2 separate regions of the Homo sapiens genome follow, and region 2 is linked to region 1. Evidence: promoter capture Hi-C in human tissues and cell types (Jung and others, 2019). All regions are on one chromosome and are shown on one strand. The core of a region is centred on a gene start or on the middle of the fragment in contact, and the rest is flanking DNA. Distances in the headings are between cores, read along the strand shown.

Region 1 (3,958 bases), core at 744-3,243:
CAGGCTCAGCTACACACAGCTCCATGCCCTCCGGGCTGACTCAGTCCTGCATTGTTCCCACACACATACGCATACCCACAACCTGGGCTGTTCTTTCTAACTTCAGTGGGGTTGAATCTGGTTTCCCCAACTAAGCCTGGGGACACTCCAGCACTGAGGGTAGATACTTAGGGAAATTGAGAGAAAACCCATGAGCTGTCTTCTAGAGGCAGGGGCATAGCTTTGCTGACCTTGTCAGGACCCAATCCCAAATATGTGAAGGATCACTAAGCTCTGCCCTTGCTGGGTGAGCGTCTCCAGACTCCTGACTCACCCCTGGGGCATGCATTTCTGGCCCAGGAGTCAACTCCCCAATAACTCAGTCCCTCCCTCCAGAAAGCCTGCCTTGACCTCCCTGAAGTGAAGCTCCTACTGCATGCCCCTCATCAGGACCAAGAGAGAAATTCTGCCTCTGCCTAGCTCCACCTGTTCACTCCCACCAACCAGACAACTCCTGATCGATAGGAATCTTGACTCCACTACACCAAATCCCCTCTAGTTCCCTGCAGATGCTAAATTGTCTCCACCTCCTGGCCTTTGCAGGCTTTCTGTCTGGAAAGCCCTTTCACTCCCTCATTGCTCTAGTTAATGTTCAAGTTCAAGCCTCAGCTCTGAGCAGCCCTGTGGGCCCACCAGACAGCTCTTCAAACCACTCCTTCCTGCCAGGTCCAGTGTTGCCAGGTGCCCACAGCTGCTCACAGAGCTCAGGCTCTGCCCTGGGACTCCCCAGCTGATGAGCTGCAGGCCAGAGAAGCAAGAGGGGAACAGCCGAGGCCTTCAGGGAGACTGAGTGCCTCCCCACCACCTGTCCCCTCCCTTCTCACCCAACCTCCAGCCCTTTCTGCAGCTTGACTGCTGGAGCTAAGGCCCCAGCAAGGCCCCATAGGGCCAGCATCACTACCTCAGTCACGCTGGCCACACCCTCTGTCAAGCTTTGGCTTGGCAGTGGGCCTAGCAATGTCCCATGCAGCTCTCTCTGCCAGGCTTCTTCCAGCCCGTGGAGGGGTCCCTTCTCCCCACCTCCCCTTCCCCTGGCTCCTGATGCTGATGCCTAAGTGATTTGTCCCGCTCTGAGCCTCAGAGTCCTTATCCAACCAATGGGCACACAGCCCCTCCCTAACTAACTCCTGGGCCGGTGCTAGGATCCACTGTGAGTCAGATGAGGAAGTGGGCTGGGGAGGAAGAGGCAGAAGGCAGCCCTCAGCGGGCTAGCTGGTCAGAAGCATGTAAGCTGCTCTGGCCTGGCCTTAACCTGGGGCCTCTGGGAGCTGGGCCAGCTGTCTGTGCACCCATGCAGGTACAGGATGTCTGCAGCAGCTGCCAGGGGCTTCCAGATGCCCCAGGTTTGGCCCCTGAGACATTTTCTCCCTAGCTCTGGGATAGCCTTATCCTGAGGCCCTACGTATTCTGGCAGAGAGTGGGGGTGGGGGAGGAGGCCCTTGCAATCTTACAGGACAGACCATCAGGCTGTTTCACAGCACCTGCCTAATACCCTGGTCTCTCCTCCATTTCTCCTCTGGCACCTAGAACCAAGTCACCCTGAGCCAGCGCCAGAGTTCCTGCCCACTCGTGAGTAGGACAACATACCCAGGAGATACTGCTGCAGCTGGACATGGACTTGTATGTAAACACAAGCGCACATATGTGGGGAGGGGTGTGGAATATCAGGATGGGGGCAACATGAGAGTGACCCAGGATGGGCAGTAGTGAGCTTGGGGTAGGAGGAGGGGATGTCCACAGAGGCCTCTCCTCTACAATGGTGGCCCAGTCACCATCCAGACCTTGCCAGGTCTAGTGCCCCGTGGTCCCCACCCTGCTGCCTGCTCAGCCTGGCAGCCTTCCTTTACAGCCTCCTGCCAACAGAGCCAGCCCCCTGCCCCCACGGGTGTCCATGCCAGAGCAGCATTCCGCAAGCCTGGCTGCATCTCCCCAGCAGAGGCTGAGCAAGGGGGCCACTCAGCAGTGGTCAGGTCACACGGCTAGAGGGGCACAGTGGGGCCTGGGCCTCTGGTCCCTACTCCTCTGGTCCCTCTGTCTCCTGGCCCTGGGCCAGTCACCTTAGATGATTTGATCGCTGCGGTTGTAGTCCTGGGATTTAAATCTCCTGCCCTGGGTGGCCCTATGCAGCATGAGGCCGCCAGGTAGGTATGGGTCCACTGGAGCCAAGTCCTGGAGGCACAGAGCAAAATGAGCCCTGCGCCGCCCTGGGATAGGGATGGGGGACTGGACCAGTTGGGGACCCCAGACTCACCCCCAGGTCAGAGCAGCCCAGGCGAGAGGGTGGGGGTGGTGAGCGCGGCTGGGGTGCGGGGTTCAGTCCCTCAGCGTGGGATCCCTCAGGGGAGCGGGTGGAAGCCTTTTCTGTTCGGATCCGGGGCCCGGCGCGCTCAGCTTCCTGATTTCACGGCAGCTTCCTATCCTGGCTCCCCCTCCGTGGCGCAACCGGAGGGCAGCGATGTTTGACTCCCGGACGAACTTCCCGGCAGAAAGGAGGCTCAGCACGGGAGGGTGGGGCCGGGGTCTATCTGCTCGGATATGAGCAGTGGGGACGGGCTGGGGGCTGGAGCTGGGGCTGGGGGTGGAGGGCAGCCTGCGGCAGGGCGGGCTGCACGGGGACCGCGCACACCACGCGTGTCCGCGCCCCCCGCCGGCACGCAGGCGGCCTGGCCCTTTAAGCGTCCAGACGGCGGCCCCAGCTGACGCGCGGGCTCCAATCGGCGCCCCGCGCCCCCCGCCCGCCGCGCCCGAGGCTCTGGGGCCGCAGCTGCTTGGCGCTGGACTCGCCGCGGCCCTGCGCCTCCGCCTGCCTGGCCGCGCCCCCGGGGGCCATGGTCGCGGGGCCCTGCGCGGGGGCGGCCCCCAGCGCGGCGCTTCATGGAGCGGCCCTGGCCTGGCCGCCGGGGGCAGCGCGATCCCGCGGGGCCCTGTGAGCCCCCAGCGCCACGGCACCATGGTACGCAGGGCCCTGCCTGTCCCCCCGCTTATCCGCCCACCTGCCAGCTCTGACCTCCCAGGCACACGGCCCGCGGGCCCGGGTGGAGGGGCTGGAGGGATCTTCCCCCCTCCCCCGGTCTCCCGGCTCCATCTGCTGGGTCCCGCGGGCCGGGAATGCGGCGCTGTGGCGCTGCTCTCGGTGGGGAGGGGGTTAAATTCCTGTGGTGGGGGCGCCGGCGCGCGAGGCTGAGGTCTTGCTAGGCACCGGCGAAGGGGGGCGCTCCCCTGCGCCCGGACGGCGCCGCCCTCGGGCTGGGTAATGGGGGGAAGAGGGAGTCGGATTCCCGCCTGGGCCTTGGGCCACGTGGGCGCTGGAGCCGCCCTGCCTGGGGATTCGGGATGACCCGGGCCAAGGGGGTGTGGGAGGACACCCAGAGCTCCCGTACCAACTCCTGTGTGACCTTGGGCAGATCCCCCGCCCTCTCTGGGTCTATTTCCAAGGGAAAGAGGGGAGGTAAGTGCACAGAGGAGGCTGGCATGGACACTCCCTCACCAAAAGGAGGAGCCTAGAGGTCATGAGCCTGTGCCCCCTTGCTCAGTCTGGGCCCCCCCACTGCTGCCCAGCATAGAAAGAATTGACATGGGAGGGGGGCGCAGATGGACTCCCCAGGTTTCATCATGGGGCCTTCCAGGGAGGCTCTGAGGCAGGGTAGAGAGATGAGGCTTCTCATCAGTGAGGCAAGGTACCCCTCAGGTGTAGAAGGCTCTGACTTGGGTGAGCAGCCTGGAGAGATGTCTGGCACCTGGCCAATCCCCAGCCTGACTTGGGGCAAGGGTTTGAGGGCATGAAACCCCCTGGCAACCAGAGTGCCTGACCACCTCCCTGGTCCTGCATCTTAGCTAGGCTGGAGTGACCTGGACTGCAGCTGGCACAGCCGGATGGGGAGGGGCACGCATTGCTTCCGGGAACCAGCACATCTGGCTG
Region 2 (3,958 bases), core at 925-3,424, 140 kb before region 1:
TCTAACTTGCACATCCTCCATGACCTACCTCTACAGAATGAGTACAGCATACCCATTCTGTAGGAAGCCCAGACTCCAGCTATATCCCACCCTGGAACACTTCCCTGACATCAGTAGACTTGGCTATATTCAGCCAGGGAATTTTTCAACTCTCTCTGTGTTCCTGAAGTCCAGAGGGATAATGAGGATGTTTAGAATAGGGAAATAAATAAGTGGGAGAGGAAGTCCAAAGTCTGCCTGAATTCCTTAGTGATAAGGACTAGAGGGAGCTGCCCTGGCCCGGTCCCTCAAAGGGCAATGGTTGACCAGAGGGTCCAAGGCGAGGCTGTGTTGAAGGATTGATGCAGTCCAGACCAGCGGTCAGAGACTTAGGTCCCATCTGGGAATGCGCATTTGCTGGGTGACCTCAGGTCCCTCTTTGGGTCTCCATTTCCTCTACCCCTCCCCAGATAGGGCTCAACACTAAACTAAATTGTGACAAAGAGAGAGCTCATCTTCCAGACCACACCCACTGTTTCATAAACACCACAGGCTTCGGTACCCACCCCTCCTTTCTCTCCAAACTGCCTCTAAGGAAGGGCTGTGTGTCTGTGCTGCTGAGGGGGCAGAGTTGGCTGGAGAAGTTGACCCAACACTCTTCTACCCTCAGAGAGTCGCAAGCAGAAGCTGCCAGAAATCCTAGGCGCCCATGGTGATTGGGAAACAAATATTTCTTGGCAAACTATATGGCCACAGTCCTGGCTTAAGAAGGCCCAGAAAGTGAGGGCGTCCATTATCTTGTCCTCAGAGGGCAAGGCTGGACACTTTTGTTTACAGCGACCAACAGAAAACTCAACTGATCCAAGCCATAAAGGAAAGGCATCAGCTCATGTTGCTAGCAGTAGAGCTGGTTTCAGGCATGGCTGCATTCACAGACCCAGACAATATTAAGAGAACCTGATTTTTCTCCATCTCTCTATTCTGCCTTCAGCTGTATAGTTTTTATCCGTGTGTTCCACTTGTCAACAAGAAGACAGCAGAAGCTTGAGCCCTTGCTTCCTTTAAGGTTTCCAGTCCAGTGGGGAAAAACCAAATTCACTTTCTTAATCACTTAATCCAAAGTCCCAGGAGTGAGCCTCCTGGCTCTGAGTAGCCTGACTCAGGCCATGTGTCAGGCACTGTGGCCAGGAATGCTCTGATGGACTTAAGCCTTGGTCACATGTCAATCCCCTGGAAGAGGGTTCATCAGAACTCCATGAACTAGAGGTAGGGAAGGAGGTTGTTTCCCAGACACAGATGAGGACATGGCACCAGAAGAGAGTAAAGGATGGTGGAAGGCAGAAACAAGAGATATCTGCTACCATCCATCCTGTTTTGACGTTACAGTGTTATGAGAGATAAGAATGGACAGGAGAATCAGGAGACGCTGGGAAGGGGCCAGAAAGCAGAAAGAACCCTGTTGCTGGTGGGAGATGGGGTTGGGATGGTACCTTGGTGAGAAATGTGCTCCAAGACAGGCAAGACAGACCAATGATGGGACACAAGGCAGGGTAGCCAGTACCCAGATTCCTCTTCCAGAAGCCACCTCTGAGATCTTCCTGGCCACTATTCCCCCTATACTTGAGGATGAAACAGCCACAAATCCCTTGAGACAGAGTGTCTTGAGCATTTCAGCCTGAGTAACCCTTATGGGAAGGAGAGAAAGCACATGACCCCAAAGAGGAACCACAGACAGTTTCCTTGAAGTCTCCTATCTTTTAACAGTTATACGAGTAACTGTATCATGCTCCATCACACAACTGTGTTACTTTCAATAAGTTTTAAATGACTTACCAGCTAATGTCTTTACCCCCATTGGCTGGTAAAGGTGCAAGATGGAGCTCGTGCTCACTGTGGCTTCCAGGGCAACAGCACTTAGGCAGGTGAGGTCTGGATGCTGGGGAAATCTAAAGGAGTCCTGGAGAGGGAGGCCTTCCCTGGACCTGGACGAGGTCAACCATGGTGCTAGCTGCTTCTGGGAGTGTTGGCCTGCAGGTGACCTGTGAGACAGAGGCTCCACCAGAGAGCCCTCAACAGGAATGAGAGAGCTGTTTGGGGTGGAAAGGACTTGGCTGTGCAGCTTCTTAGGCACTGAGTTGTTCAGCTTCAGCTTGGACCCCTCTCCCTCCGCAGCAATGGATTGCTGGCTGCCAGCTGGGATGCACATCCCAGTAAATGGAGCTGATTTACTTAAAACAATGGTCAAAGTACTAAGCACTTTGGTGCCTGCAGGCCAGGAGGGACCCCCTTAAAGGAAGGTCCCCCACCTATGTTCTTCCCACGGACCCACTTCAAGAATCTCTAAGTCGGCAGGGGAGGTGGTTGAGGCCCACGTAGCCTACAGAGAAACTGAGGCCCAGGGAGGTAAGGACCCTGTCCCAGGGTGGGAGGGACAAGCTGGAGGAGACACTGAGAATGTCTGATTCTGGAGTGGTCTTGCTGGACTCTCTTCTATGGCCCTGGTGGAAACTGACATTCTTCTCCCAGGCAGAGATGAGGAAACTGGTGTGGGGTTGCCGGGGCCAGCAACCACTTTTCTAAAGCCAAAGACGCAGAAGGTGCTGCCAGTCCAACGCTTCCTCCATGGAGGCCTTCACCCACCCACACCCATCTAAGAGTTCCCAAGACCTGTTTTTTCTGGCTATTCCTAGACAGCCATCACCCCCACTCACATGTCTTCCACAAGGTCAGTGACCCCAGTCACACTGGTCTGGCCCACCCCTGATCCCTGGCCAGGGTACAGGGAGGGGAAGAGGAGAAGCTTGGACTTTTCCATCCCTTCTCTTCACCTTCCAGAAGCAGGGGAGGCCTGGTGGGATCCTAGAGGGGCTCTCTTACTTCCTTAAACCTCCCCACCCTCAGTAGATCTGGTATAGCTTGAATTATTTAGAAACTAAAAAGGAGGCAGGTGAGGTCTGGGCAAGGAAGGCCAGAGTCCCCTCCCTAGCCTGGTGACCCAGGGGACTGAGCACAGAATCCTGGAATGACAGAAGCTGGAAAATACAGCTAGACTCCTGGATTCTTCCCAGGGCTGGCCCTGGGAACCAGAGGCCAGGATCCAACTCCACATAACAGAGTAGTAGCACGAGCTGGCCCCACTCATCAGGGAGATCAAGACAGGGACAGACTCTCAAACCAAGCTGGAGAGTGGCAGAGTCCAGAGGGCCAGCTCAGGCCTCTAAGGGGAGGCCCTCTTGCCGCCATCTGGAGTTGTGCCACCCGCAAAGAGACAAAGCAGTTACAGCTGCAGCACTAATGGGGGAGCCATCAAGAAGCTGTGGCAGGGTCCTCGGGGCCGACCCAGGTTTGGGGGCAATGGACAACAGGTTGGGGTCAGGTTCAGGTTTCAGTCTTGGGTTGGTATTGGGGTTCCATCTGGAACTTGGATCTCTTCCAGGGAGAGGGCAGGTGCAGTCCAGAGACTGGGCCTGGTGCTCCTGAGTCTATGGACGAGGCTGATGGGCCCTCCCTGTCTTTGTTCTCAGGGCGGCCAGGCGGCCAGGCTGCAGGAGGAGTGTGACTATGTGCAGATGATCGAGGTGCAGCACAAGCAGTGCCTGGAGGAGGCCCAGCTGGAGAATGAGACAATAGGTGAGGCCCCCATGGGCAGAGAGGGGCTGCATGCCCCCAGGGAGCCCAAGATTCCTCATGTCTCAAGCTGAGATCCAAGTCACGTTCGTTCCACATTTATTGGATGATGGTGAGGAGCGGCTGGGGAGCCAGATGGAAGAAGAAAGGGGCTAACAGGCTTCCACATTCCCACCCCAGGTCTGGGGAGCTCCCAGCCGCAGCTAAGGAGGACATACTAAATTGGGGTTCTGAAAAGTACATGGAGCCAACTCTGCCTCTGGGGGTCCCTATCCCTCTTCTCCAGGAAAAGTGAAGATCTCCATGGCGGCCAGCCCACCCAGGACACAAGGCCCAGGGTGCTATGTGGTGG

What was found. The method cuts DNA at HindIII sites, captures the fragments that hold promoters and counts their contacts. A contact is called where the count stands out against the background at its distance.
Region 2: a contact is called between a fragment that was not itself captured here and the fragment with the promoter of ZBTB47 in region 1, in 1 of the 25 tissues and cell types used here (pancreas).

The regions. Positions count from the first base shown.
Region 1 is chr3:42,651,704-42,655,661 of GRCh38, forward strand. ZBTB47 (zinc finger and BTB domain containing 47) reads left to right here and starts at 1,994. Exons shown (of 6, transcript NM_145166.4): 1 at 1,994-2,180. ZBTB47-AS1 (ZBTB47 and NKTR antisense RNA 1) reads right to left here and starts at 2,685. Exons shown (of 3, transcript NR_125400.1): 1 at 2,291-2,685. RefSeq lists an enhancer at 1,968-2,609 and silencers at 2,615-2,974, 3,015-3,094. The HindIII fragment of the contact is 7,927 bases long and covers 1-3,958 here.
Region 2 is chr3:42,510,246-42,514,203 of GRCh38, forward strand. It overlaps VIPR1 (vasoactive intestinal peptide receptor 1), which reads left to right. Exons shown (of 13, transcript NM_004624.4): 2 at 3,504-3,609. Among named protein-coding and RNA genes, the nearest start is that of VIPR1, 9.6 kb to the left of the region's middle. The HindIII fragment of the contact is 3,997 bases long and covers 177-3,958 here.